Regions from separate parts of the Homo sapiens genome. Here all the other regions are linked to region 4. The links are contacts of gene promoters, found by promoter capture Hi-C in blood cells and fetal thymus (Javierre and others, 2016). All regions are on one chromosome and are shown on one strand. Each heading gives the region's core, a stretch centred on a gene start or on the middle of the fragment in contact. The rest is flanking DNA. Distances are from core to core; before and after follow the strand shown. Region 1 overlaps ARL6 (ARF like GTPase 6). Region 2 overlaps GABRR3 (gamma-aminobutyric acid type A receptor subunit rho3). Region 3 overlaps RIOX2 (ribosomal oxygenase 2). Region 4 holds the start of CPOX (coproporphyrinogen oxidase). Region 5 overlaps LOC101929298 (a long non-coding RNA gene). Region 6 overlaps LOC105374007 (a long non-coding RNA gene). Region 7 has its middle 260 kb from the start of LINC00973.

Region 1 (4,282 bases), core at 493-2,992, 810 kb before region 4:
CAAAATATCCTTCCAACAATAGGATTCAGCATAGAGAAATTCAAATCATCCAGGTAATCCACTTTATCCCTTAACAAAAAAGTTGCTAGTGAAAAATAACAATATTAGGTCTACCTGGTCATTCTTCCTACCCTTAGATAAAGTAATTTGTTGTTTCAGAATCTCATAGGTATTAAAGTGTTTCTAACCACTATGGCTGGTTTATTTTTCAGAATTTAGAGTTTAGACAAACTCTGATAACTTCACTAGCAAAGAAGTTTTTTATGTTATTTATTGCAAAATTGTGTTTATATTAATACATTTATTTCATAGAACTTTTACTTGTAAATTGGCACATGTTGAATATTGCATATGAAGGGTAATTTCTTTGATTGTAAATAATTTAAAATTTTAAGTAAAAGTTATGCTTTAGTTTATAATGTAGTCATGTTTTGCTTCTTTTTGTAGTTTGTCATTTACAGTGTTTGACATGTCAGGTCAAGGAAGATACAGAAATCTCTGGGAACACTATTATAAGTAAGTACATCTGTGAATGTTGCTTAACTAGATGGTTTTTACTAATAATAATGATTAGAAATCCAAAGAATTATATGGCTAGGTTGTTTGGCTTTTTTTTTTCATGTAATTTATGAACATTTCCTATTTTAAAAAATATGTAATGAGACTCAACATTGTTTGTCAAATGTTTCAGGTCCTTCATGACTTCGGGCCTTTGCATGTACTATTCTCTCTGTTTTTAATGCCCCATTCTATCCTACTTCACTTCAGTTTAAGGTTAACATATTCCTGCTTTAAAACTCAGCTAAAAGTCCTTTCCTCTGAAGTTTCACTGTTCTGCCCAGTTATTTTGTCCTTATTGTTCACCTGGCACTTTGTCCATTTCTATCTCTCTAATCATACTTACCATGTCTTGAAGTTATGCACCATAGCCGCCTCCCTAGTGGAAGTGTGAACTCCTCAAGGGAAGGGATTATTTATTATTCATATTATTTTTTCAAGACCTAGTATGATGCTCAGCATATAGGCCAGTAAATATTATTGACTAAATTTAGTTAAAAATAACAGTGTTGCCTAACAGTTGATCCATTGTTCTATGAATAATTTGAAACAAGCCATTTTTCAGCATATGCAAGTCAAGTGCTCACTAATTTACACTTGGTCCTTCATGTCCTTGGGTTCTGCATTCCTGGATTAAACCAATTGTAGATCAAAAATATTTGGGGAGAAAAATGCCATAAAGTTCCAAAAAGCAAAACTTAAATTGCCGTGCACAAACTACTGTATTGAAAGCATATAAATGAGGTCATATGTAGGCATTGTATTACGTATTATAAGTAATCTAGGGTGATTTAAAGAATATGGAAGAATTTGCATATGTTATAAGCAAATACTAAGCCATTTTATATAAGAGACTTGAGCATCTGCAGATTTTGGTATTTGAAGGGGATCCTGGAACCAATCCCTCGCCAATTCGGAGGGATGACTATACTTCAGACTAATAGCTGTCAAGTTACTAGGACCCAAATGTGTTATACCTTCTGGAGATTTGCATATGGTAATAAAATAAATTCATTAGCTTCTAATATTGTTAGGACTTCATTTAAGAGCAATGTATTTCACTTTTAGAGTCTGAAACTTAAAAACACTATCTCTTAACTAAACTCTCTTTTGTCATTATGAACTGCTGCCTTGAAATGGTATGTGATATTTACCAGATAAGATTTAGATTTAGATTAACTCTTTCCTAATAATGTGAGACCAAACATTAAATGGTATATATTTGGGATATGAACCAGAGGAAATTTATTCAAATTTTTTTTTCAATGAGTCCTTCAATAAATTGAAGGCCTATTTAAATCGTAGGTCCAGAAGACTTCTGAGAGAGAGGGAAAAGAGAGTGCTTCAGATTCGAGGGTTAGTTTGGAAAAGGAAAAGTGGCATGTTTGTGGTATTCTGCATTAAATTCCTTGGGGAGATGCATTTTATGTGTTTCTTATTTGTTTGTGTGTTTAGGAAACCTGAGTTTTCAGTACAGGATTTTTTAAATTCCTCCTCCAATTAGTTGATAAATAATTCCTTTTAAAAATGTATTTAGCTACTTTAAAAATACTTTAATTTTAATTACAAAAATATATATAGAGAGAAAATAGTAGGAAAGTAAACTTTGTTTTTATTTGATTTTAACTCCTTTTTTCTTTGTACTGTTTTTGGATGAAATTTATGAATTCTAGAATAGAGTGGTTACATTGTAGATTGAATGGAGAATATGATTACTATTGAAAAATCAACAATAAAAGTAAATTTACTTTCCCTATTTTCGTACTTTTCTAACTGTGAAACAAAACAAGTACATTTTGATCTATTAGACTGAAAAAGGTTACAAAGATTAATAAAGTATGCTCTTGTCAAAGTGAGCCACTCCTGTGAGAATGTAATATCTTTTTCAGGGTAATTTATTGATATCTGTTAAAATGAAAAATGTTTATAAACTCCAGCAAGCATTTTTACTTTTAGAAAAGTATTCTATGACCAGGGCTTATGGGCAAAAAAATATACATAGAAGGTTGTATGTTAGCATTATTTATAACATTTTTATATCAATTATGTAAAAATGTTACTATAAATATTTATCTTTGCTATATATATAACCATAGTAGTAAAAAAAAAAAATCAAGGAAATTTACATTTGCTATAAATATGTACTTACTATGTATAGAAAGAAGAAAGTTCTTAGTGGATTATGCACCAAACCATTAGTAGCATTTATTTTTGGAATAGTAGGATTATAAGGGAAGTTTACTTTCTTTTATTTTTCTTTTCTTTTTTTTTTCACATCCTGTTTGGTGAAGAGAGACATTTACTTTCTCATCTATATGATGCCATAATGTTAAATATTATATAATTTTTACATACTATTTTTACAATATAAAAAGGTAATAGCATGCAAAAATATAAGGAGTACACATTTTTTAAATTTGGAAAATATAGAAGAGAATATTGAAAACATGTTTCCCATAAATCTCACTATTCATAAATTCACCATTGTCAATCTTTTTGGTATCTTTCTCCTCCTTTTGAAATATATAACATATACTTTATATAACTAAGGAAAAAGGAACCATCTAAATTATGTACCATGTATAATTTTGTATCTTGCTTTTTTCAGTTAACATGTGGTAAGGGTAAATCAGGAAAAACATGCAATGAATATAACTAACAGCTGCCTAATATTTTTTCACACAGCTTTGCCAAAATTTCTTTAACCATTTCTCTACTCTAGGACATGAAGGCTATTCTGTTTTTGAAAATTGTAAACAGTCCTTCAGTCAAAATCTTGTATAAATCTTAGCCCCAGTTCGTGATTCCTTAGAATGAATTTCAGAAATAAAATCACTGGCTCAAAGTGATTGAACGTTTTTATAGATCTTGATAGGTACTTTGATTGTTCTGGTTTCTATATGTACTGGTAATGTATGTCTGTGATAATCAGCATTATCCTTTTTTAATGATAGGAGAAAATGGTATATAAAAAGTTTTATTTTGTATATCATTTGATTATTAATCACATTGCAGTTTAAATACTTAATTTATGATTAAGTGATTCGCAAAAAAAAGTACAGATGTCCAATAAATATATGAAAAGATATTGAACCTCATTGGCAATTAATGAACTAGATCAAGATAATATGCTGTTAGAATGGCAATTATTGAAAAGAATGATGATAATGATAATAGCCAGTGCTGGCAAAGGAGTGAGAAAAGTACTGAGTCATGTAAATTGATATGGCATTTCTGGAGGACAGTTTGGAAATGTTTTTCTAAAACTTTAAATTATGTATGTAGTCTTAGAAATGTTACTCCTAACATTTCTAATAAATCTTAAAGCATCAGAACTTTTTTAAAAGAAAGGTATGTAGGAGGATATTTGCCTTAAAGTTTTTCATAATGATGAAAATTGGAAATAACCTAAAAGTCCAGCAACAAATGTTTGATACAGTATTTGATGACACATCCATGCAGTGCAATAGTTTAGAACCATTAAAAGAAGATAGTGCAGAGGAATAATCAATAATTTTTCAAGTGCCTATGTGATCCATGGGTGAATCCTTAACTAGTTCAATCACTGGCTATCAGCTTTTAAAAAATCAAATAGAATAAAATAAAAGCTATTTGTAAGTATTTTTTCAGAAGACTTTCACTTAAAATACATCTATATATACCTATGTGTCTACTGTATCTTAATACAAAATGTATTTCTCACTATGGTTTATGGTAAAAATAA
Region 2 (4,050 bases), core at 796-3,295, 590 kb before region 4:
TGGGCCAGTATTTGGGGAGTCAGTCCCAAGACAAGAATAAAGAAGGTTTTTATACCTAGAGACAGTCACCTTCAATGGCCCTTTGAAAGTAGGCCTTAATACTCTCTATGAAAAGGATCAAAATAATGTGGATGAAAATAGGGTGATGATGACAGCTACTAACTAATATTTATTGAGCCTCTATTATATGGCAGATAACATTCTAAGGTACTTAACTATATGACATCATGTATCCTCACAACCCTATGATATAGAGAGTATTATGAAACCCATTTAAAGATGAGAAAGTTAAGGGTTAGAGAGATTAAGCAACTTGTCCAAGGTCAGGTTGCTAATAAATGATAGAGACAGGGTTTGAACTTAGGCAGTCTGTTTCTACTACTTACACATTCAGCCATTAGATTATGCTATGATAAAGAATAATTATTCAATGCATCCCTTAGGGGCAGGAGTCATTTCTTTTTTCTTTGTAAATTTATAGTGCATGATTTTGAGAATTTTGAGAAAGGGATCAGGAGGCAGAAGCCCTCATCTGCTTGTTAATATTGCCAGGTCGTGGTGATTTTTGAACAGTGGCAACGGTAGTGGTGAAGGCCAAGAAAAAAAAAAAAACACCCTGTTGTTCAGCTGTAAAATGGAAACTAAGGTCCTATAACTATATTTCTGACTCTTATAGCCAGAGTCAGATGTATAGTTTTTCTATACACCTGGGAGTGGTGGTTGTGGCTGGTAGTTGTAAGGATAGGAGTGAAGAAAACAAATCAAAAATTATTTTTGAGGAAGCTAAAATATTTAAACAGGAAACTAGTCTGAAAAAGACACTTGAGTTTGTCAGAAGATTATGTTTAATGATTCGTGGATAATGTGAGGCAGAGCTATCACATGCTCATGAACTAAAATAAGTTTCTAAATGTAATCTTTCCGAAACCTAACTAAGGGATGGTTAAATGAACCCAGATATGATTATTGATTTGATATTTGAATACAACTTCCAAAATGCCTCCCTTCGGCATTTTTCCTACCAATCTCTGTCATTAAAAAAAATGGGTATATTGTAACAAATTAAAAAATACAAGTGTTTTTTGTACCTACTTCTCAGAGGTATCTATTGTTAATCTTTCTAGGCTTTTAACACACACACACACACACACACACACACACACGATATGCACAGATATGTATATAAGCACTCATGCACTCATAAATATGTATACATACATTCTTCAATAACAAATATGGGATTTTTAAAATATATTCTTCCGTAACTTGCTTTTAAAGAATATTAATGTATTATGGATAAGTCTCCTTCTCATGTTACACAAAGCATGTACATTTGAACCTAATTCTAATTTTTTTTCATTTTTCTTAGGAACCAAAATGATATTTCTTAAAAATGTAACTACCTTTGAACGTTAAAGATTTGTAAGTTCATTTTAAAATGCAAGCATCTTTGTAAGCAGTAAGTTTTTCCATGCCAGTATTTTCCTGGCTTTAGAGAGATTCTAAAACATGACCAGAAAAAGATATAAATCAGCTAGTGTTGTAGCTGCCTGGTAGGGCTCAAAAAGTCTGACAAGCACAAATAAAATTATGGTAGAGCAAATGGAATGATTTAGTGGTAAAGTTAGAATTTTGAAGTGAAATTTAACTTCCTGTTAGGAGGACGGTTGGATATATGTTAATGGATAGTTGTGCTTCAAAAGCTAAAGAAATGCCATAATTATTGTATATTTTGCATATGTTCTGTGCATGAGACAATTCTTTTTGATTTCTATGCTTCATATATATTACATTATATTAGCATTAAATGTTGCAAATATCTATTTACAATTTATCATATGCCAAAGTTATTTTTCATTTTAGCAATAGTAAAATGAAAACACATCCTATAAATTATACTTCACATATACCATGCTTCATTGCATACATTCTTTTATTTAAATATTAATTTAATTTAGGATTAAGTAAGAACATTAAAAATCCTGATAAATATATGCCTATATTTATTCATATAGAGAAAGACAAACCGAGAAAAGGAGGAGAAGAAGGAGGAGCAGAAAAATATATCAAAATAATAATATAGTTTATCTCTATGAGGTAGGATTACAAAGAGATTTTCCTTTAAATTTTTCTGAGGTCTCTTCAAATTATCTAACATTTATTCATTCATTCAATAATTAGCCTTTGAGCATCTACTATGAGCCAGGGATATATCAGTGATCAAAACAAATAAATATGTGCTACTTACATAATCAGAAAAGGCAATAAACATGATTAAAATTGAGAGCATCATTTGCTGAATCCCAAGCAATGTAGACAAATAATGGAGTGAAATAGAGAATTTCTTCTGGGTCTAAATAGATAAATAGCTGTTGTTCCTAGAGAATCATTTAACTTCTCTGCAATGTCAACTTCTACTTCTCTCTTAAAGCTGCAGGTTTTAGATACAAACTTGATAACTACTCTCCAAGATCTGAGAACAGAGTGGAGAATCTTTGAGGAGAAGAGACACCACTATCAAGGCAGAGTAGGTAAAGCATTCTAGCCAGGACAGCTCTGAAACTCAGGGACAGCTGTTGGCACACTTTCTGGCTGGCCTAAGCATGGCTGCATTGAATCTGAAGTGGCATTTTATATGGATTCGGCCTAAAATAACCCAGAATATTAATATCCAGAAGGGGAATGATAGTGGAGGGTGAGGAGGGCAGAGGGGAACCGAAGGAGGCTGCTTCCAACTTTAGTCAATGGGGATCACATATAACTTTAAAAGGTGTCTTGGATAAAAGTTGTCAATTCAGAAATATATCTGTCATAGTAAAGAGTACTATATAGGCCCAATTTTGGATAGGTTTTCTGTTTGGGGCAATGATGCACTTTATGGATGGATTCATTCAGCTGATTTTTATTGAGCATCTGTCACGTGCCAAGAACATTCCAGGTGCTGCAGAAGAAATGGTGAGCAAGGCAGACAGATTCCCCACCCTTTTCCTGGTGAGGCACTCACACAACAAAGCAGTCAAATAAACGCATAGTTCAGGTGATGGTAAGTGCTGTGATGACCGAGATAGGGAACGGTGAGAAAGGAAGCCTGTTTTACACGGGGTTGGTTTGGTTAGGAAAGCACTGTTTGAGAAGCTATTTGAACAAAGCTCTGACTGAAATGAGGGAGAAGGGCATGAGAATATTGGGGGAAAGCACCCCAGGCAGAGGGAGGACAAGGCCAAGCAGAGGCCCTGTAGATGGAATGAGGCAGGCAAGCAAAAACGCCAGTGTCGGGAGAGTAGCAGGTGGTGAGGGGCAGAGGAAGTGGGTGAGTCCCACATTAGGCAGGAGACTGATCACGTTGAGAAACTTCAATTTGTTGTAAATGTGATGGAAAGACACTGGAAAGTTTAGAACAGGAAAGAATTGTGAACTTTATGTTCCAAAGAGATTACTCTGTCTGCTGTATTGAGACTGGAGAAGTCAAGAATGGAAGCAAGGCATCTAGTTAGAGGTGGCTGCATGAGTGGGAAAGAAACGATGTATGGAAGGGTGGAGCTTGCTCCCTGTAAAAGGAGAGGAATGATGGTGCTGGCCAAAGGGGACACTCGCTTGGATTCCGGTCTTTTCGCATGTTGTGGTGCTTTGCAAACAGTAGATGTCCAATAAATGCTGATGAATCACCCATGTAAAATGCTGTACCTGTGCTGCTATAGAAAGCTAATCCACTAGATGCACTGAAGTCTTCAATGAAGAACTGAGAAAGGGACATATGTTCTTCAGTATTTAAGGACTTGTTTCCGTGTTTCCAGTATAGCATTAGGTCATCCTCATTGTAGGCATCTAAAACATGAAAATATCAGTCTTGTAAGTGTAATAAGCTCTTGTAAGCTCAATGAGTTCTATAACCATGTCTTATGTGGCTCTGTATCCTTAGTGCCTACTCCAATGACATGTACATATTAGGTGATAAAAATATGTTTGCCAATGGACTGATCATACACACACTTTTAGGAGGAGGAAAAAGAATCTCTAAAAGTTAGACCCTGATGACTAGTATAGTATGGA
Region 3 (3,775 bases), core at 170-2,669, 630 kb before region 4:
GAGCAGTTCCTCTCTCCAGTGAATTGTGTATCACAGTAAAAAATGATCTCTCAACAGTTCTTGTGTATTTTTCATCATGTTTAGTGCAACAACTTAAGCCGTGAATAACACCATGGGACCCATATGATGTGCCACTACTGCTACTGCAAGTACTCCCGAGAAACAGAAAAAAGTCGTAACGTTACAAGAAAAAGTTGAATTGCTTGATGTGTATTGTAGATTAAGGCCTGCAGCTGTGGCTACCCACCATTTCAGATGGACGATTCAGCTTGTAAACAAATGATGTAAACTTACGGTACTGATAAACACAATATTAAAAATACTTTTCCCTTTCTTATAATTTTAATAACTTTTCTCCAGGTTCCTTTACTGAAGAATAAAGTATATAACACATATAACATACAAAATAAGTGTTAACCAATTTATGCTATCAGTAAGATATCTAGGCAATGGAAGGCTACTAGTAGTTAAGTTTTAGGGAAGTCAAAAGTTACAAGCAGATTTTTGACTGCATGAGGTGTTGGCACCACTAACCCCCACACTGCACAAGGGTCAAGTTTCCGATAAAAAATAAAAATGAAAGATGAGAAATGCATGTCATTCCACAGTTAAACAAAAGTTGCCACTACTGGGTTTTATTTTTAAAAACGGAATCGTGAATCCTGACACTGGATATTCATTCTTTTCACTTTCTTAGAGCCTCGCTGAGTTCTTTATATCCCACTATCTCATTCCTTTAAATCTTCTATCAGACAGCTAAAAGCCCATAATCTCTGATGGAAAAGCCAAGCTTCAGATATTACTGAATGTCTAAATCCTGAATGTTGAAAGGGCCTGGGGAGATAGGAAAACTTCGAGTTTTTTATTCTTTATTCAGTCAAAGATATTCTATTAAAAATATTAAAAATAACATTTTGTGAAAATGTATTGATGTCAAATTGCTATCAAAGGAGAAAAAGGGGACTTTTTACCAATAACTCTGTGTTTACACCTTATATTAGGACAAAAATAAAACTATGGAATACATAAGCCAAAGAGTTAAATTTTTTTGGAAGCCATATCAGAGTGAAATCAACACTTGTCAAGATGCCAATGCTTAAGTGAAACCATGACCCTCATTCAAGCTGCCCCAAGATTTTCACAAATGGAAAATATATACATATTTTTGGCAGCTACTGAAAAAGAACAAAATGAAAGCACATGAAGGATTATTTGTGACCTCATCTTATTAAAGACCATACTTTGTGAAATTAAAGGAAAAGCCAAGCACACCTTTCTGTAGATAAATTCAATAAATACTTGTTTCAGACGAATGTGTGGCTCTTTAAATTAGTAAGGTTGGAAACAAGCTGTTCCTTTGAGACAGAGCAGGAAACCAGTTTAGTGGGATTTACTTTGGCCCAACATTTTGATGAAATCAATATCTCAGAAACTGCACAGAAAGAGCGAATACAGACCTAAGAGCCTTAGAGAATAATGTGAACTCACCCTGACAACTCTACTAAACCAGGCTCTCAACAACTCATTCTTCCCAACATGGGGCAATTTTCTCCATCTCTTACCTCGACATCATCATAATGGGGCGGCAGGCCCTGAGATCCTGCGGGAGTTATGTACACATTCGAGCCAACCAAGGAGCCAAAGTAACATTCCAGCTTCTCCTGGATCCTCCAAAGCTCATCCTTTACAAAAAAGGAAAAAAGAAAGGGTCGGCGTGGGGGAGTGAAAAATGTATTAGAAATAAGAATAAGAGCATGTTCTTGTTCACTTAGGAAGTCTTTACTGCACAACTATTATACACCAGATACTGGGAATTATGCAATGATACAGCCAATACCCATGGTCTCAAAAATCTTCCATTCCAGTGCAGAAACACCATGTAACAGACGTGAACAGATAAAGGGATGACTGACAAGGTGGGCAATTGGGAGTCCGGAAGGCTTTTAAGCAGGGAAGGACACAATCCAATTTACATTTTTGAAAGCTCACCCTGGTTATTGTGTGAAGAATGCACTGTAGAAAAGAGTGGAAGTCAGAGAGACTAGTGAGGAAGCTTCTCAGGCAGCAGCTCAAGCGAGAAGTGACTGGGGTGGTAAGAAAGGCAAGGAGGGAGGTAGAAGAGTGGGATGCACTCTAGAAGCAGCACAGACAGGACTTGCCGACAGACTCAATGTAAAGGAGCGGAGTTAAAAAAAATACTCTTGGGTTTTTGACTTGGGCAATCAGTTCCCCTTTCCACGTAACGAGATGGGAAAAACTTACTAAAAAACAAGTTTTCAGGACAAAAAAAAGAGTTTTATATTAGGAATGTTAAGTTTGGAATGCTAAGACCCCCCCCCCCCCCCCCACATGGAGATGTCTTTAAGTCGGTCTGAAGTTCTGGCAGAAACTAAGGACTGAAGATTTACACTTGGGAATTGCCTACACAAAATGGATATTTAAAGCAATGGGAACAGAAATGATAACACGGGAAGAAGGTACAGACAGAGAAGAAATAACAGGCTGGGTAATGTTCCTTCTCTCCACTATCAACTCTTCAGAGCAGACATCAGACTTAGGGGCCTAGCGATGGGCCATATATTCCCAGGAGAGAGAAGGAAGTCTGATTTTACCAAGGCTGGTGAGAAGAGAGGAGGGGGGCAATTAGGCCATGTAGATATTAGCACTTCCTATGTGCCAGGCACTGTCTCCAAGTGCTTTACAAATATCAATTATGCAACCCTCACAATAACCCTGCCTCATAAAGAGGGTACTAACATTATCTTCAGTTTACAGATGAGGAAACTGAGGCATGAGACCATGCAACTAGTAAATGATGGAGCCAGGATTCAAATTCAGGCAGCATGGCTCCAAAGTCCATACCTTTCAGAGAATTTAAGAAAAGACAAATCACAAAGGGCACTAAAGAGACTGAAGTTTTAAACATATGAATGTACAGTGCCTGGCACACAGACTGCATGACAACATATTTAAATACTTGCTGAGCAAACCAATGGCCACAGCTTGGGAGTCCCTTCTACCACAGGAGTGAAAAAGAATCCACTGTATTAAAAATATCAAGTGAGAAAGAACTGGGAAGAACTGGGTCAATATGAAAAAAGACTTTTTTAAGACATGGTCTTGCTCTGTCACCCAGGCTGAAGTGCAGTGGTGTGATCACAATCACAGTTCACTGCAGCCTCGACATCCCAGGCTTAAATGATCCTCCCATCTCAACCTCCCAAGTAGCTGGGACTGCAGGTGCATGCTACCATGCCCGGCTAATTTTTTTCTCTTATTTTGTAGAGATGGTGGTCTCACTTTGTTGCCCAGGCTGTTGTCAAACTCTTGGATTCAAGCTATCCTCCTGCTCTGACCTCCCAAAGTGCTGGGATTACAGATGTGAGCCATGGATTTAGCCAAGGACCTCTTTATACAGACCACTGGGCTTCTCTATAGATCTCAGAGTTTCTACTTAACACAGAAAAAATAATTTAATGTCATCTGAATAGCTCCAAAGAGTTAACAGAGCTCCAAAAGGGCCTAATCTATTTCAGGGAAAGGCCAGCAGGACCTGGTTCTGTAATTATTTTTATATAGTAACTGGAACCACTAGAAAACCAGGGCTTCTCTCTCTCTCTTTCTCTCTCTGATGGTATGAGAGGTCTTTCAGGACTGTATAGGTGATTTTATGGTTCCCGACCCAACTATCAGGGTAACTAATGAATATGTCTCTTTTCTTCTTAAAGGTTACTGAAAATGCTATCAATGGCACAATTTTTCTATTTCATCTGGA
Region 4 (4,289 bases), core at 706-3,205:
AGTGAGACGCACATTAGTATTCACGTGTATCAGCCTTACTAATTTTTTTTCTTAAGGTATTAGGGTCACTGCAAGGGCAATGTTTCATGAAAGTTCATGTTTGGCTTGTTTTATTTCTAAGAACATTTAGAGCTGGATGGGACATAAGATGATCCAGTACAACCCTCATATATTCCAAATGAGAAAACTGAGGACCAGAGGGGCAAAACATCTTATCCAAGATCAAACTGCTGACAAGTGGCTGCAACAATTTGTCTAAATGCTGTCTATGCTTCAGACAATATTCTAAGCACTTCACATATATTCCATCCATATATATATATATATATGTATATGGATATATATATATATATATGTAGTATGAGGATTAAAAGAGATGAAATACATATATATTTCATAGATGGGAAAACAGCCATAAAAAAGTAACTTCTGAGGATCACACAGCTGGTCTAGTACTTGAGGTTGTGTCCTGGTTCAGTGGTCTTTGCTTGAAAACATAAGATGGAAAACTAGACTGAACTTCATTTAATATAGATGTGTCAGTATCACAGCTCAAAATCTGCCGGTGAGAAGCTGCTGTTGTATTTCCAGCTAGGAAAAGTCAGGAATCTTTCAAGTTTCCACTCAAGATGTGGGGTTTCACTGTATGGGCAACAACATGGTCATGAATGTACGCCTCTACGAGAACTGGGTTTTGATGCTCAAGTATTTTGATATTGGAAGAGAAGATTTTCCTAGCAGGAAATCTGATGCGTGCATTTGGTAGTGCTACTGAGAAACGAATCAAATATATCTTGTGTAACAGTAAAAAGAAGTGGGAAGATTCTGACACAATGACATCCTGGCTGGAGGAGTTTAGCCGACACTTAGCGCACAGGAGATGAGTTCTTTCCATCTCCTAAAGAGGAAAAAGGGCAAATTCACCCAGAGAAGGAGAGAAAATGTGTTCCATAATCTATTGAAATTTATGTTCAGTAACGAACTTTGGACATCTAAGCTTGTTAGCTGCAAATACCCCTTAAGAGTTCTACAAAAAAATGCTGCTACGGAATTGCAAAGATTTTGAAATGCAGTACTACAGTGACAGCTGATCCGGGTCCATACCTGCAAGCAGAGGGCTAGTGACCCTTTCGTGTCCATCTTTTTATCAGCGGCCTCTAACCAAGCGGCCTCTCTGTGGGTACCCCCTACCTACCCCATCCCATATTGTGAACTATTATATTTTCTGTCTGCAACCTGGAACCTGACCCTTTTTCCCTGTCTCCAACTCCCGCCAGGGGCCGGCCTCCTTACCTTCCTTCCTCTCCCACCGGTCCACAGAAAAGTTGGCGCCCCCGTCTACCTGTGCCAGAGCCTGGCACACCTGGGCCTGGGTCTCCAGAATCAGCAGCTCCATCTTGGTCTTCATGTCGCCCGGCCTCCTTCGCAGCTCGCCCAGGTCGGTCACAGGCGGGGCCATGAAGCTGCTGCAGCGGTGGGCCAGCTCATCCTCCTCCTCCTCCGGCCTCCCCAGCGAAGTGGCCCGCGTCCCCGAGGTCTTAGGCAACATCTCCGCCCGCTGCACATGCCCGAAGGCGGCGGTGGCCAGCCCCACCAACCCCGCCAGCGCCGCGGCCAGCCCTGTCCCCACCCAGGGGCCGCCTCTCGACGTCGAGCCGTGCCCCAGCCCGCGGCTCTGCTCCGTGCCAGCCGGGCCAGGGGGCCGGCAGACGCGTCCGGCTGCGCTGCGCTGGGACCAGGCTCGGAGCCCTCCGCCGCCGCACTGGGACCAGGCGCGGGGCCCTCCGCAGCCGCCCCGCGCCACGAGCCAGCAGGGGCCCGAGCTCAGCCTGCCCAGCTGCAAGGCCATGTTCCCGCACTATCACCTGGAGCAGTGCCTGCGTCCCAGAGCCCTGCGTTTGAGCCCCCCACCCAGACCCCCGGAGTATTGAGCCGGCGAGCTGCACAGGCGGAAAGAACCTTTCGAGAAGAGCCGCTGCAGCGTCGGGCTCCGGAGGCGGGGGCGGGAACTGGGGCGCGCTGGGAGCTGTAGTCCGGATCCTATCGCCGCCTGCGGCGTCCCTGCGCGGGGCGGGAGATAAGAATCCGACGCGCCCAGAAGGGCTGGTCCGAAGGGAAGAGAGTGGGGCGGGGACGGTGCTGTGGAAGGGACGGGAGAGATAAAAGAGGCTTTCTTGTCACGTACAACCTCGGGTCGGCTGTTTACTCAGCCAAGGAGAGAAGATAGAGTAGGGCTGGGAGGCTGAGGGCGGACTGGGGCGGAAATGTGGCAGAGATCCCAGTCCCGCTTACATTTTCAAACAGGATTTGCGAATACAGAGCCTGGCTCAGGATCTGTATAGACCCGCCCTTCGCCCTGGGTCCTGGTCCTCTAGAGTTTTTAGAGGGGATGGGCAGGCTGGGAAACTCTTTGCTGAAGGATGGTTTTCTAAAGAGAGTGGGAGAAGCTAGTAATGGACTCGGAAGAGAGTCGAGGAGAAGACTTTCTGTGATCGAGTCCACATCACAGTTCTGTCCTTAAGATTTCCCCAGGCTGGGGCCGGGCGCGGTGGCTCAAGCCTGTAATGCTAGCATTTTGGAAAGCCGAGGCGGTTGGATCACATGAGGTCAGGAGTTCGAGACCAGCCAACATGGTGAAACCCTGTCTCTACTAAAACTACAAAAAAATAGCCGGGCGTGGCGGCGTGCACCTGTAGGCTCAGCTACTCGGGAGGCTGAGGCAGGAGAATCGCTTGAACCCGGGAGGCAGAGGTTGTAGTGAGCCGAGATCGCACCACTGCACTCCAGCCTGGGTGACAGAGTGAGACTCTGTCTCAGAAAAAAAAAAAAAAAAAAAAGGTTTCCCCAGGCCTTGCTTCTATAGTGCCTACTTGATTATTTTAGAAAAAGGAAAAGCAACGTGACTGTTTTGGTTAACCAGTAGAAAATTCCTGACTTGGTGTGTTTTGGTGATTAACAAATAAGAATTTAAAAAATAGTTATTCTACTACTGTAGGGTGCTCCCAAATATTGCTCACGTTTAATACTTACAACAACTGCTACAAACTAGGCAAGGCAAATATCCACACTTCCTCCTACTCTGTCTCCCTTCCCCCACCCTTTAAAGAAATGAGGAAAGAAGCTAATAGATTTGACAGGCAGGTCTTTGTCTCCCCTGTAACCATACCACAGCTCCATGGTTCCTGGACGTAAAAGTGTGAGAACTATTGTCATGGGCTAATTTGTCCCATAAGTCTCCGGGATGATTTTAATTTCTAGTAGTAGATAATAATTTAAGCCACTGGTAGCTTTTCCCACAAGTGTTTTCTTTGTGGCAGGATGCACTGATGGAACTTCAATGGCTTTTGAGTCAGATCAATTGGCATCTTGTCCACACACAACTGTACCTGGCAGCTCTCACTGGGACATGATGTTAGCAAGGTGGGTGTGCTTGCCGAAGCCTCACCACTGAGAATCTGTGAAAAGTAAAGGCTTGGATTGAGAAGTGACTAAGCGACTTTTAGGGAAGAAAAACAATTAGCTTTTGGTCATAGTGCAACCTGCCAGGAGGCCAAGTTAGAAGTGGAGGAAGGGAAATAAGAATTGTCATTGTAGGAAGGGTTGATGGCCTCTACTGGATGCCTGTGATGGGGTTGGGCTGGGCCTGGTGATGATAAATGAACCTCATCAAATGAAAAGGAACCTCCCTGGTACGTTTATTTGTAAGAAACCCCCTCATTATTGCTCTAATTCTGCTAAAAATACCCATAAAGTTAGTAAAGCCCATAAAGTTAGTTAAAGCTAAGTAAGAACAGACTGTTTTGAACATTTGCCCGGTCACAAAGGCTGATCCTGAGCAAATTGCATACTAGATTCCAGGTTTCCATCCCTCTCATCCTTAGCCTCTCTATACGAAGGGCCTCACTCCTTTCTTCCTCTGGTTCCTAGCACCCTCCCTACTGGCAAACTGTTATTCAATGCTTAAGAAAGGCTTCAATAACTTTGTTAGTGTGAGTTTAAATCACCTTTCTGGAGGTTCAAATTGTTCCCAAGTGGGATACTTATATTTAAGTTGTATTTGTCGGTATGGGGGAAGAAAAAAAGACATCACCTATCTAAGTAATTTCTTACATCAGAAAACTAGTTGGGACAAATAAAAAGTTTCTAATAAGTTGTAGAAAGTAAAGTGTAAAGTAGAAGTTCTTGTCTGTTTTTTAGCTTAGTTTCTTGCATTGCTTTCCAACTATTTTTTATGTGACCCTATTGCAAAGATGATTCTGCCTAGCCTTATAGGTATTAGTACATAAACA
Region 5 (4,268 bases), core at 241-2,740, 790 kb before region 4:
CGGCATACCATGTTAAACTGCTTTTCTGGCAATTTAGAATAAACCAAGAAAGATAAAATCTGTCTCCAAATTTCAAATCACCAAGTAATGCTAAAAGTCACCCAGGAATACTAGATATTTTGAAAATAAAATTTGATTAGAAATATAGTAGTAATGATAAACATAGCTTTTACAATGTGCCCATACTTTGTAAGCACTTTACATATATTCATTTAATTGTCATAAGAACCCTGTGAGGTATTATCTCTATTATATAGATCAAGTGTCAGTAAACTGCTAACTCATTTTTGTACTGCCTTTAATGTTTATTTTACTTTTTTTAAATTATTATACTTTTAAGTTCTAGGGTACATGTGCACAACGTGCAGGTTTGTTACATATGTATACATGCGCCACGTTGGTGTGCTGCACCCATTAACTCATCATTTACATTACGTATATCTCCTAAAGCTATCCCTCCACCCTCCCCCCACCCCACGACAGGCCCCGGTGTGTGATGTTCCCCTTCCTGTGTCCAAGTGTTCTCATTGTTCAATTCCCACCTATGAGTGAGAACATGTGGTGTTTGGTTTTTTGTCCATGCGATAGTTTGCTGAGAATGATGGTTTCCAGTTTCATCCATGTCCCTACAAAGGACATGAACTCATCCTTTTTTATGGCTGCATAGTATTCCATGGTGTATATGTGCCACATTTTCTTAATCCAGTCTATCATTGATGGACATTTGGGTTGGTTCCAGGTCTTTGCTATTGTGAATAGTGCCACAATAAACATACGTGTGCGTCTTTATAGCAGCATGATTTATAATCCTTTGGGTATATACCCAGTAATGGGATTGCTGGGTCAAATGGTATTTCTAGTTCTAGATCCTTGAGGAATCGCCACACTGACTTCCACAATGGTTGAACTAGTTTACAGTCCCACCAACAGTGTAAAAGTGTTCCTATTTCTCCACATCCTCTCCAGCACCTGTTGTTTCCTGACTTTTTAATGATCACCATTCTAACTGATGTGAGATGGTTATCTCATTGTAGTTTTGATTTGCATTTCTCTGATGACCAGTGATGATGACCATTTTTTCATGTGTCTGTTGGCTGCATAAATATCTTCTTTTGAGAAGTGTCTGTTAATGTCCTTCGCCCACTTTGTGATGGGGTTGTTTGTTTTTTTCTTGTAAATTTGTTTGAGTTCTTTGTAGATTCTGGCTATTAGCCCTTTGTCAGATGAGTAGATTGCAAAAATTTTCTCCCATTCTGTAGGTTGCTTGTTCACTCTGATGGTAGTTTCTTTTGCTGTGCAGAAGCCCTTTAGATTAATTAGATCCCATTTGTCAATTTTGGCTTTTGTTGCCATTACTTTTGGGGTTTTAGACATGAAGTCCTTGCCCATGCCTATGTCCTGAATGGTATTGCCTAGGTTTTCTTGTAGGGTTTTTATGGTTTTAGGTCTAACATTTAAGTCTTTAATCCATCTTGAATTAATTTTTGTATAAGGTGTAAGGAAGGGATCCAGTTTCAGCTTTCTACATATGGCTAGCCAGTTTTCCTAGCACCATTTATTAAATAGGGAATCCTTTCCCTATTTCTTGTTTTTGTCAGGTTTGTCAAAGATCAGATGGTTGTAGATGTGTGGTATTATTTCTGAGGGCTCTGTTCTGTTCCATTGGTCTATATCTCTGTTTTGGTGCCAGTACCATGCTGTTTTGGCTACTATAGCCTTGTAGTATAGTTTGAAGTATTTTACATTTTTAAAGAGTTGTTAGGCCAGGCATGGTGGCTCATCCCTGTAATCCCAGCAGGTAATCGGCCGTTGGGAGGCCAAAGCAGGTGGATTACTTGAGGACAGGTGTTCGCGACCAGCCTGGCCAATGTGGGGAAACCTCGTCTCTACTAAAAATACAAAAATTAGCCAGGTGTGGTGGCATGTGCCTGTGGTCCCAGCTACTCAGGAGGCTGAGGCATGAGAATCACTTGAACCCAAGAGGTGGAGGTTGCAGTGAGCCAAGATTGCACTACTGCACTCCAGCCTGGGCAACAGAGTGACACTCTGTCTCAAAAAAAAAAAAAAAAAAAAAAAGCAACAGAGACTATATGTGGCCTGTAAAGCCTAAAATGTATACTGTCTGATGCCTTCTACATAAAAAGTTTGTTGACCCGTGTAACAGATGATAAAGTGAGGCAAGAGATAGCATATTGCAAATACATGGAAGAAACCAGATTTTGAGTCTACAAGATCTGGCTCTGGAATCTGTGTTCTTACCTTTTACATAGCTTCGCAGCAAAGCTAAACATTCTAAATTGCAATAGAACAATTTGAAATTACTTCCTTCTTAAATAATTGTATTAAAAATGAAAAATTAGGTGCAAATGGCTGAAAAGCAATGCTCTTTGAAATTCCTTTAATTTCCCATTAAGAATGAAAAGTATGAAGTCTTGGCCTTCTGGTTTTTATTCTTCCTTTTCTTTAAATGGGTGGCAAGAGATAAGGCAGATTATGAAGCATCAAATATGTTAACTTTTAAAAGTATAATCACACATACAAATTGTCCCCAAGCATCTGGTTTGGACTTTCAGATTCCCTGATGATTTTTACCAATATTTTGAGGTAAATGATAGCTACTGTTGATAGTCTTGAAATGTATATGTTAGAATATAGTGATGGAAACAAAAATATTTCACGCCAAAATATACTTATTTGGTGTATTTTGAGAAAGCTATGCAGAGGGCCTGCAAACACAAGTAGCCCTACAAAGCTGTCTTTTGTGGGAACGATTTTCTACTGTAGAGAAAATCTGCACTGATGCAGCCAGGCTTTCTCTGAGGCCCTCCCATGTCTGGATCAAGGAAAGATTAACTGAGAGTCTGACACCTTTAACTGAGATTCTGCTGTCTGTGAGGTTTCATCTATATAACCAGATGACCTTTGCTAGCCAAGCCTCCTCTTCCCCGCTCCCATAACCTGTCTTGCCACCATAAACTCTTCTGGGTGAAGCTTCTAGCTATTCTTTCTGTAGCGTCAGGATAGTATAAAAACTCCATATGGCCATTTCTTTGAGTTTTTATATTTTGTGTGACTCCTGTGAACATGACTGCACAAAATAAATTTGTATGCCTTTTTTCCTGTTAATCTGTGAACAGATCGGGAAAAATTTAAACTTCCCTGCAGTAGAAACATTTTTATAATTCAATTTGTAGATATTTGTATTTTTGAGTTATGTAACAAGTACAGCTAAGAATGTTTACTTCATTACAAACATTTCATGATCATGCGTCAGTGTTCTAAACCTTTGCCATTTAGCTAAACGAATAACATGTCCACAAAGGACTAGGCTCAGAATTTGGTCTGTCTCTTATAATCTCTTTGAAAAGTTTATAAATTCTTCCAAATGATTTATGAAGTATCAATGTTACATTACTAAAATTGATTTATGTGTCCTCCAATTAAATGTAATCATTACTATTGGAGTTAAAGCCAGTTTCACATTCACACTCTTCTTAGGCTCTGTGGGTGTGTGTGTGTGTGTGTGTGTATGTGTATCAGGATGCATGCACCTTCCTAAAGTCATAGCAAGCTCACACTTTGGTGATCACTAACTCTTCCCTGGGACTTTCTTAGGCAGATTTATAGTTATGTCTTGCAAGTATACTATTCTTACCAAGTTTTAGGGGTTTTAAAAAAATATGTTGTTTTTTGTAATTCTTAAATATGATACATCAGCTCTTACCTCTTGCCATTTCTGGGAACTTTATTATACATTTGATAGTGTTTTTAGTGCATTTTTAGATGCTGGGTTATTATTATCTTAAATACTCTCTCTAATCAGTGAGTTTATAGTTTCATAAAATATCACTTATTGCTTTTCACATTGTAAAACCCCCATACTGTGAATAATTTCATTTTATTTATGCATAGCAGCACAAGATTTTTTAAGAATAAATGAAAAGATTTTTAAGACCCTATATTTACATGGTATCTTGTTAATGTTAAAAGTTTGTCTTTTCTAATACGGAATATATCTAACATAGGACTTCAGAAAAAATATTACTGATATGTTTACTGATTAAAATGAAGTGTGAATCTATATAAAGACAAGAGGCAGTATTTTTCTTTTAATAAGAACTTTAGATATAACAGAGATACTCAATTGTCTATGAGAGGAATGGGTATAAATAGACTATGACTCTTTCTTGAAAGAGATCAGGAAAATCCTGAGGTGGAAGCCTCCATTGATATCAGTACCAACCAAATCATACTAAGTGAGCAGGTTC
Region 6 (4,369 bases), core at 1,163-3,662, 920 kb after region 4:
CTCCACTGATTATTTTGGAAAATTAAGATGGAAAAAAATCACCTTAAATAGTGTAATAGTTAGCATATAAAACAAGATAATAAACTAAAATAACAAAGGAAATGTACATTGATACAAAAACGTGTATAGAACTGCATGGTAAGGAAACTGAAGACCATCAAAATCTTGTCAATAACAATTGATTGCACGCCTTCTCTAAAAAGGATCGGCACTCAGTATTGCCAGGAAATCATCCCAGAATCAGATTGCTCTGGACTGATAGAGCCCAACTGGTTAAACAGCTAAAAATAAGCAATCAATTCTTAAGCTGAAAAGTTCACATGCCCTGCGGGTAGAAAATGAGAGTGCCAGACACAAAAAGAACTCAATTAAAATTTCCCAGACCTTGTGATTCTTGGTGCCACAATCAACATCATGTAGTGCAATGATATGCTGTGTGATATATCATGCACGTATACATACACACATACACACACATAAATACATACACAAACATGTGTATAGGGCTATATGTAAACACATGCACATACTTTTTTCTGCCAATTCCTTTTTCTTTAGCCTCACCACTCAAGTCTACACTGGGAATAAAAATGTAGATCTTGCACATACATAAGTAAGCCTTCAGTCATGGAATTCATTCATGAGTTTACAAAGTGCAAATATATCATAACTACACTAGAAGTTAACAGTCTTATGGGCTCTGTCATTATAGCTTAACTAAATCTAAAAATCCTTCTGGGGAATATTCAGGGAGGGCTGTAAGTCAAGGTAGTCACCTAAGCAAAGGGGGAAGCATTTCCTCCAGGGATTTGGAAGGACACTTGGTAAAAGTATATTCCCTACCATCTAAATGTCTTCATATCAGACATTTTGTCATTATCATTCTTTTTAAGCTAAGCATTGTCTTCCTCCTATAAATTTCTTTGAAAATCAAAGAGATAGCATTAGGAGATATACCTAATGTTAAATGACGAGTTAATGGGTGCAGCACACCAGCATGGCACATGTATACATATGTAACTAACCTGCACGTTGTGCACATGTACCCTAAAACTTAAACTATAATAAAAAAAAAAAAGAAAATCAAAGTTCCTAAAGTATGGGTTAAATCATTAAGTTCTAAAAGCTAAATGTCAATTTGATTATCAATTTCTTTCCTAACCAGCAAAGAGAGAGAAGAATGGGTGAACCCCAGTTATACGTGACAATTGTCAAGGGAAAGAAGAGAAGGGTCTAAGAGATAAAGGGCGTGAGAAGATGAAGTAAATAGAAAATATCTCTGACAAACTTCACTTCCCTTCATACCTTTGCTCCAGCAGATTCTGACCGTCATAATGATCATTCCCCAAGTCATCAAGCACAATGCAACATGATAGAGCTGGTTATACCTTAGCAATAATCAAAATAAACCAAGCTATGAAAAATGGCTTAATCTTTTCATTTCAGATTAACTTTAAAAAGCATTCTAAAGATAATTCCTCCTGTTGATCAATTCACTTTTATTCTCTTGTTTTTTGTTTTTTTGTTTTGTTTGTTGTTCTTGTTGTTGTTTTTGGAGACAGGGTCTCACTCTGTCATTCAGGCTCACTGCAGCCTTGACCTTCCAGGCGCTAGTACTCTTCTTACCTCAGACTCCCAAGTAGATGGGACTACAGGTGCATGCCAATGCAGCCAGCCAGCTATTTTTTTTTTCTGAATTTTTGTAAAGACAAGGTCTTACTATGTTGCCCAGGCTAGTCTTGAACTCCTGACCTCAAGCGATCCTCCCTCCTTGGCCTCTCAAACTGTTAGGATTATAGGAGCAAGCCACCGCACCCAGCCTCACTTGTTTTTTAAGAACAACCCCAAACTGGCATATTCATCAATGCACCTGTTGTATTACAGAGGTGATTTCATGTGGCAATCTATAAAAATTTCTCACAAATATCACCTTCTCCATGAAGCTTTCTCTGATTCCCCAACCCAGATCCCCAATCATCACTCTTCATGCTACTTGAGGGCTCTGTTAGCTCTTCCATTAGAACTTTTTTCATGGTATTTAACATTTAAACTTACCACTCCAGTTAGAAAACAATCTCTTTGATGTTCCCAGCACCTAGCCCAGAACCTGGCACAAGGACGGTGTTTAACAACAGTGTGACACATGAATGATCAACTACCAAAATACTTGTTACATTGTAAATGTGTGTTCTTTTACTATCTCCCTGACTATGAGCTCCTTGGCATATACCCTTAATTATAGAACAGGCCTGTTCAACAGTGATGCTTCCTCCAAAGTATCTCTTTTGGGTCAGATGTAACTACCTTATCTTTGATAAATAGTAGGTAGTGATCCTGCACCACCAGGAAGATGGATTAGATGACTTCTCTGGGATTTTCCTACACAGAACCATTTCAGAAACATTAACAAGCAGATATTACACTAACTGGAAATTCAGGCAGCAATTAAAATGTCTTCTTTCCATCACTGCCTTCATTTAATTCTTACAGAAATATCAATGTGTTTGGGGAGGTCCCAAGGAAATGAACCAAACCTAGTTAGTCAGAACAACTCAATCCTCCTTTCTTTTGAGTTTATATCCTCTAAGTCTACGGACCGATGTAAAAATCATTTCCCTCCCGGAAAAGAGGCTGCTTCTGCCAAGCCAAATAGCAGGCACAAAAGTAAATGCAGCTGGGGCCCTGGCTCTGCCTCCAGGCCCTACCTTTGGCAATAAGCATTTTCTACCTCTGCATCCTGCGCCTTCCACAGGATGCTCAGTAACCTCTCATGGAGCTTCCAAGTTCTTTGGCAAATGCTCATCATGGCCAGTTGGATTTCTCTTAAAGGGTTTAAATTTTTCCACCCTACCACCTATTCATGAAGAAATTCAGAAATTATTAAGCTTCTGGAATCAATGGCTTCTTTTTTATATAAAAGAGAATATCTTACCATGCAATCTCTGACTAAAATAGTATATACTTTAAGTGTCAACAAATGTCAGTGTTCACTTTTGGATGGTACTAGATACTTTAAGTACTTGTAGTAGGACTGAAATGTAGCAGGACTGAAACTTGTAGTATATATGACAATTCGGAAATATCCTACACTTTTTTGCCATTGTCTATAACTTTTTTTCTAGAACATCTTTTTAGGCAGGAGGGAAAACAAAACCCTTCTTTTTCAAATTAGAATTACTTCCTTTGAGTTAATTCAGTCAACTGTGTCTCACTTATTTAGGAGTTTCTCCCTTCTGCTCCATCTTCGAAAGATGGCATCTACATAGTGGGGAGACTCTGCATATCCTCCATGGCTGTTTTCTTCCCTGTCTACCATATAGCAGTAGATCTGGTCTTGCCCTTAGGAATCCTTCCTTGGTATCTGTTGAAATGAAACCAGTGCCTGGCATAGATCAGTTTAACACCTTCTGCCACTTCCTTGTCCTGTTTTTAGTGCTTAGGTGTCTACTTGCCAAGGGATACAGAAATATTTAGAATCCCTAAAGGCCACACTCAGACAACAGGTTACCAGCACATCACGTGTGGCCTATCTAACCTGGCTGCCATCATAAGACTCCAATACATATGGAAAGAAACAAATTCTATAAAGGGCTGACTTCAGTGTTCCCTGTTTGAGAAGTGAGGAGCAAGCCTCCCTATGCTGGGAGTTTCCCAAAACTATCTGGGTATTTCTGCCTTTCACTCCCACTCCTTAGGGTTTTGGCCAAGAGAGGAAAAGTAGGACAATAACATCTGATTTCTTGTTTCTCTTCCTCTTACCTTTTTCTCTTTATGGGAAAACAAAACAAGTAAAAACAAAAACTGAAGTACCTTGATGAGAACTTTCCTTAAAACAGACTCCAATATTTCCATACAATGGCTTACAACAAAACTCTCTGAAGGAAGTATGCCAGGATTGGTTTTTGATATTTACTGTGGGAGAGAGTTAGACATTTAATAAATTCTTTTCTTTCTCAAAAAAAAAAAACTAGGTATCAAAACCATTCTAATACCGTGGACTCAAAAACTCATCTTTGAGACTCATTTCCAAGGCAAAAACCTTCTTGGCTTAATCTTTTTTTTTTTTTTTTTTTTTAAAGACAGGGTCTCATTCTGTTGCCCAGGCTGGAGTGCAGTGGCAGGATCTCAACTCACTGCAACCTCTGCCCCCAGGTTCAAGCAATCCTCTCACCTCAGCCTCCCCAAGTAGCTGGGGCTACTGGTGCACGCCACTATGTCTAGCTAATTTTTGTATTTTTTGATAGAGACAGGGTTTCACCATGTTGGCCAGGCTGGTCTCCAACTCCTGACCTTAAGTGATCCACCTGCTTCAGCCTCCCAAAGTGCTTGGATTACAGATATGAGCCACCATGCCTTGGCTTAGTCTTAA
Region 7 (4,417 bases), core at 1,566-4,065, 580 kb after region 4:
AAACCCACTACCACAACCAATGCTAAGATCCCTTCCCCTGCTGCCTCCAAGCTGAGGACGAAACATAAGGCCTGAGATTGTCCCAGAGCTTCAGTGTGCAGCCTGGGAGTGCCAAGCTGAGATCTTAGGATAGGAGAGGAGCCCATACCTTCAGATCACTGAGAGGGAGCACAGCTACAATCATGAGGAAATACAAAGAAGCCTTCTGACTGGGAAAAAAGAGCCTACCTACTGGCCATTACACTTAAGCGCCACCTAGTGGATCACAGCCCAAAACAGCAACACAAGAAATAACTTGGCTGATACACTCCCCTGTGAAACTAAGGACATGAATTCAGCTACAAATAAAGACCCTGCACAAAGCCTTGGCCCGCTGAAAACATCCAGAAAAAGTCTACTGACTACTCATTTACACTGCAATTAAAGGAATACTAGCCCACACAGATGAGAAAGAACCAGTGCAAGAATTCTGGCAACTCAAAAAGCCAGAGCACCTTCTTTCCTCCAAAATTTCATGTTACTTCCCCAGCAAGGGTTCTTAACCAGGCTGAAATGGCTGAAATGACAGATATATAATTCAGAATATGGATAAGAATGAAGATCATTAAGATTCAGAAGAATGTTGAAACCCATTCCAAGGAAGCTGAGAATTACAATAAAATGATACAAGAGCTGATAAATGAAATAGCCATTATAAAAAACAACCAAACTGATCTAATAGAGCTGGAAAACACACTACAAAAATTGCATAATGCAATAGCAAGTATTAACAGCAGAATAGACCAAGCTGAGGAAAGAATCTCAGAGCTCAGAGACTGGCTGTCTGAAATAAATCAGTCAGAGAGAAATAAAAAAGAACGAATAAAACCCACAAGAAATATGGGAATATGTAAAGAGGCCAAATGTATGACTTGTTGGTGTCCCTGAAAGAAACAGGGAAAAAGCAAGCTACTTGGAGAAAATATTTCAGGATATCATCTATGAAAACTTCTCAAACTTTCCCGAAGAGAACAACATTCAAATTGAGGAAGTGCAGAGAACTTCTGTGAGATATTACACAAAAATACTATCCCCAAGATACATAATTATCTGATTCATCAAGGTCAAAATGAAAGAAAAAAATGGTAAAGTCAGCTTGAGAAAAGAGGTAGGTCACCTGCAAAGGGAACCCCATCAGGGTAACAGCAGTACTTTCAACAGAAACCCTATAAGCCAGAAGAGATTGGGGGCCTACATTAAACATTCTAAAAGAAAAAAAAAATTCAATCACAAATCATTAGAGAAATGCAAATCAAAACTACAGTGAGATACCATCTCACACCAGTCAGAATGACTATGATTAAAAACTAAAAAAATAACAGGTGCTGGTGAGGTTTTGGAGAAAAGAGAATGTTTATACACTGCTGGTGGGAGTGTAAATTAGTTTAGCCCCCGTAGAGAGCAGTTTGGAGATTTATTTTATTTTATTATTATTATACTTAAGTTTTAGGGTACATGTGCACAATGTGCAGGTTTGTTACATATGTATACATGTGCCATGTTGGTGTGCTGCACCCATTAACTCGTCATTTAGCATTAGGTATATCTCCTAATGCTATCCCTCCCCTCTCCCCCCACAACAGACACCGGTGTGTGATGTTCCCTTTCTTGTGTCCATGTGTTCTCATTGTTCAATTCCCATCTGTGAGTGAAATTTCTCAAAGAACTTAAAACAGAACTACCATTAGACCTAGCAATCTCATTAGTGGGTATATATCCAAAGGAATATAAATCATTCTACCGTAAAGACACATGCACTTGTATGTTCCATGTAGCAATTTTCACAATAGCAAAGACATGGAATCAACCTAAATGCCCATCAATGGTAGAATGGATGAAGAAAGTGTGATACATATACATCATAGAATACTATGCAGCCATAAAAAGAATACAATCATGTCCTTTGCAGCAGCATGGATGGAGCTAAAGGCCATTATACTAATCAAATTAACACAGGAACAGAAAATCAAATACTGCATGTTCAGATTTACAAGTGGGAGCTAAACAATAATGACACATGGATACTAGGAGAGGATCAACAGACACTGGAACTTACTTGAAGGTAGGGGGTGGGAAAAAGGAGAGGATAGGAAAAAATACCTAATAAGTATAATACCAGGTATTGTGCTTATTTCCTGGGTAACAAAGTTACCTGTACAACAAACCTCCGTGACATGTAGTTTACCTGTACAACAAACCTGCACATGTAACCCTGAACCTAAAAGTTAAAAAATAAAAATAAAAAATAAAAGGAACAATGTATATTTGGTTAGATTGCTGAAAGCTTCAATTATTTAATGATTATTAAATTATGCAATTTATAAGTAAGAAGTTGGAAATCAAAGTGAATGGCTCAGTTACATGGGAAGTAAAACTGCCTCATCGTAGTCAATTGTAGCAATTACGACAGCAAATGAGGACAAAGCCCAAGCAGCTTGTTCATTTTCTCTGTCATGAACCTGAATATTTATGACAATGAATTCATCTGGAATTTCACAAGAAATTAAACCATAACAGAAGTGACTTCTAATTCCCCTCTCCACCAGAAATGATGTAATAAAGTGCTATAAATTTCATTAATGGGCTCGTTTCCTTCCTTGCTGTGGAACATCAACCACAGTCCTGCCAGGTGGGTACACTGATTAAATGCCATATAACCCTAGGAAGGACATTAACGACCACTGGAGATTCTATATAGACATAATAATATGCAAAACTCTAGGAGAATGCATGTGCATGGCTAGTTTAGAGCAAATGTAACATATTTCTTTCATATTAAAAACTAGGAGTTTTTATGAGAAATGTATGTTTGATCTTTGACAACTACAATTTTTAAAAATTGTTTTTAAACAACATAGGCTTATGTTGATGAATAATCAGAGGCTGCAAGTAAAAACATTACAAATAATAGTAGAGGATCAACCTGTGCTTATTTATAATTGACATGTAAAACAGAATCTGACTTGAATATAATTTTTTACTATATCAAATGTGAATTGAAAGTGATTAGAAAAATTTATTCTATCATATGCGTATCAACATAACCCCAATTGCAAATTGATAATGCAGACATTTCCTAGATACCATAATACTATTTCCCCCTATTAATCAGCTTACTCAGAATGCACCTAATAGAGTAAAACTCTGAAATGTTTTATCTCCCCAGATAGACTCTAATTTTTATATGGATACCTTTCCTACCAGTTATTGGCTTTTGCTGGAAAGACTATAATAGGAAAAGTTCACAATGTTTATAATATTAATAATTTAAGCTTTTTTCTAACGTTAATAATAAATTATCTTTTATTAAGGTCTTATAATATGCTCAGCTATTTGATAAGTGCTCTGTCAGCAGTATTTCTATTAATCCTCACCATAACCTTTTATGAAAGTGTTGTGTTGTTAACTTCCATTTTATAGATAGGGAAACCAGGGCATCAGCAGGTAAAGTGTTTTTCCAAAGGTCTCACAGATGACGGCAAAAAGTGGGATCACGATTTATACTCTGATTAGTGTGCCTCCTAAGTTCAAACTACTTACTACTCACACTGATACTTCTCATCTCTCTTACCTCATGGCATAATATGCATTCAGTAGAATAAACAGTTTGAACCTTAGCAAAAATTGTGCAATATTACCTAATGTTCCAAATAATTTGGAAGCATTTTATATGTGTTCACTATAAACCAAGTCATAAGAAATGATTTACTTGTTATATAAACACACTTTTAAGTTGTTATAACTTGACTGAGTTGTTAAACTTTTTATAGTGCGACCTGACAGAGTTTAACTTATTATTTTTATGTAAACACTTAATGTCTTTGTATTTGATCTTTTAGTGTTTACATATTAGCTTGAGAATCTTGGCTTTTGCCTATTTATAGAATCAAATATTCTTAGTTTAAAGGTAAATTACAGATTACTAGTTCAGTATCACATTAAATGCAGTCATCCTCTGTTTATGTTTCCTCCATAACCTTTGTGATTATCTTCAGTAATAAATCTATCAAATATTCTCTACTGTGTCACTATGCTGAGAATAGCTATAACACACATATGAAATTGAGTTCATATTGTTTTATGTATAAAAAATAAACCCACTAAATAATTAAAAAATAGTTTTCTAAATGTCTTTCTTAAAGATTGCCCTTAAAAAGGACTTTCAGTAAGATAAAATATTAACCCTGAGGAAAAAGTGAGTTCCGAGAAGGAATAGGAAGCAAAGATACTTAAAAATATTAAACTAAAAATGTATTTAGAAAAGTGTAATAAAAGTTTCACATAGTTTTTGGAGATAAACAGCAAGTTATCATTCTTGTTTAGGAAAAGAACCAAAATGTTAACTAATTTTTTTACTTTTTCAGAAAAATATAAAGCT

The links. The method cuts DNA at HindIII sites, captures the fragments that hold promoters and counts their contacts. A CHiCAGO score of 5 or more calls a contact.
Region 1: a fragment that was not itself captured here is called in contact with the fragment with the promoter of CPOX in region 4 in 3 of 17 cell types (naive CD8 T cells, total CD4 T cells and total CD8 T cells); the score reaches 8.1 in naive CD8 T cells.
Region 2: a contact is called between a fragment that was not itself captured here and the fragment with the promoter of CPOX in region 4, in 1 of 17 cell types (non-activated CD4 T cells). The highest score is 5.0, in non-activated CD4 T cells.
Region 3: a fragment that was not itself captured here is called in contact with the fragment with the promoter of CPOX in region 4 in 1 of 17 cell types (total CD8 T cells); the score reaches 5.2 in total CD8 T cells.
Region 5: a contact is called between a fragment that was not itself captured here and the fragment with the promoter of CPOX in region 4, in 2 of 17 cell types (total CD4 T cells and total CD8 T cells). The highest score is 5.6, in total CD4 T cells.
Region 6: a contact is called between a fragment that was not itself captured here and the fragment with the promoter of CPOX in region 4, in 1 of 17 cell types (M1 macrophages). The highest score is 6.8, in M1 macrophages.
Region 7: a contact is called between a fragment that was not itself captured here and the fragment with the promoter of CPOX in region 4, in 1 of 17 cell types (fetal thymus). The highest score is 5.6, in fetal thymus.

What each region holds. Positions count from the first base shown.
Region 1 is chr3:97,780,168-97,784,449 of GRCh38, forward strand. It overlaps ARL6 (ARF like GTPase 6), which reads left to right. Exons shown (of 8, transcript NM_001278293.3): 3 at 1-53; 4 at 448-516. Among named protein-coding and RNA genes, the nearest start is that of ARL6, 18 kb to the left of the region's middle. The HindIII fragment of the contact is 6,022 bases long and covers 1-4,282 here.
Region 2 is chr3:98,004,080-98,008,129 of GRCh38, forward strand. It overlaps GABRR3 (gamma-aminobutyric acid type A receptor subunit rho3), which reads right to left. Exons shown (of 10, transcript NM_001105580.3): 7 at 3,685-3,825. Among named protein-coding and RNA genes, the nearest start is that of GABRR3, 29 kb to the right of the region's middle. The HindIII fragment of the contact is 5,970 bases long and covers 1-4,050 here.
Region 3 is chr3:97,960,027-97,963,801 of GRCh38, forward strand. It overlaps RIOX2 (ribosomal oxygenase 2), which reads right to left. Exons shown (of 10, transcript NM_153182.4): 3 at 1,563-1,682. Among named protein-coding and RNA genes, the nearest start is that of RIOX2, 11 kb to the right of the region's middle. The HindIII fragment of the contact is 1,263 bases long and covers 789-2,051 here.
Region 4 is chr3:98,591,656-98,595,944 of GRCh38, forward strand. It overlaps CPOX (coproporphyrinogen oxidase), which reads right to left and starts at 1,956. Exons shown (of 7, transcript NM_000097.7): 1 at 1,294-1,956. The coding sequence starts at 1,849. RefSeq lists a silencer at 1,495-1,944 and an enhancer at 2,445-2,494. The HindIII fragment of the contact is 5,536 bases long and covers 996-4,289 here.
Region 5 is chr3:97,801,402-97,805,669 of GRCh38, forward strand. The region is part of intron 2 of LOC101929298 (a long non-coding RNA gene); the gene reads right to left. Among named protein-coding and RNA genes, the nearest start is that of CRYBG3, 18 kb to the right of the region's middle. The HindIII fragment of the contact is 2,997 bases long and covers 1-2,989 here.
Region 6 is chr3:99,513,467-99,517,835 of GRCh38, forward strand. All of the region lies in intron 1 of LOC105374007 (a long non-coding RNA gene), which reads right to left. LOC105374005 (a long non-coding RNA gene) reads right to left here. Exons shown (of 5, transcript XR_007095985.1): 2 at 3,811-3,912; 3 at 1,306-1,388. Among named protein-coding and RNA genes, the nearest start is that of COL8A1, 120 kb to the right of the region's middle. The HindIII fragment of the contact is 942 bases long and covers 1,942-2,883 here.
Region 7 is chr3:99,172,975-99,177,391 of GRCh38, forward strand. No RefSeq gene overlaps it. Among named protein-coding and RNA genes, the nearest start is that of LINC00973, 260 kb to the left of the region's middle. The HindIII fragment of the contact is 988 bases long and covers 2,322-3,309 here.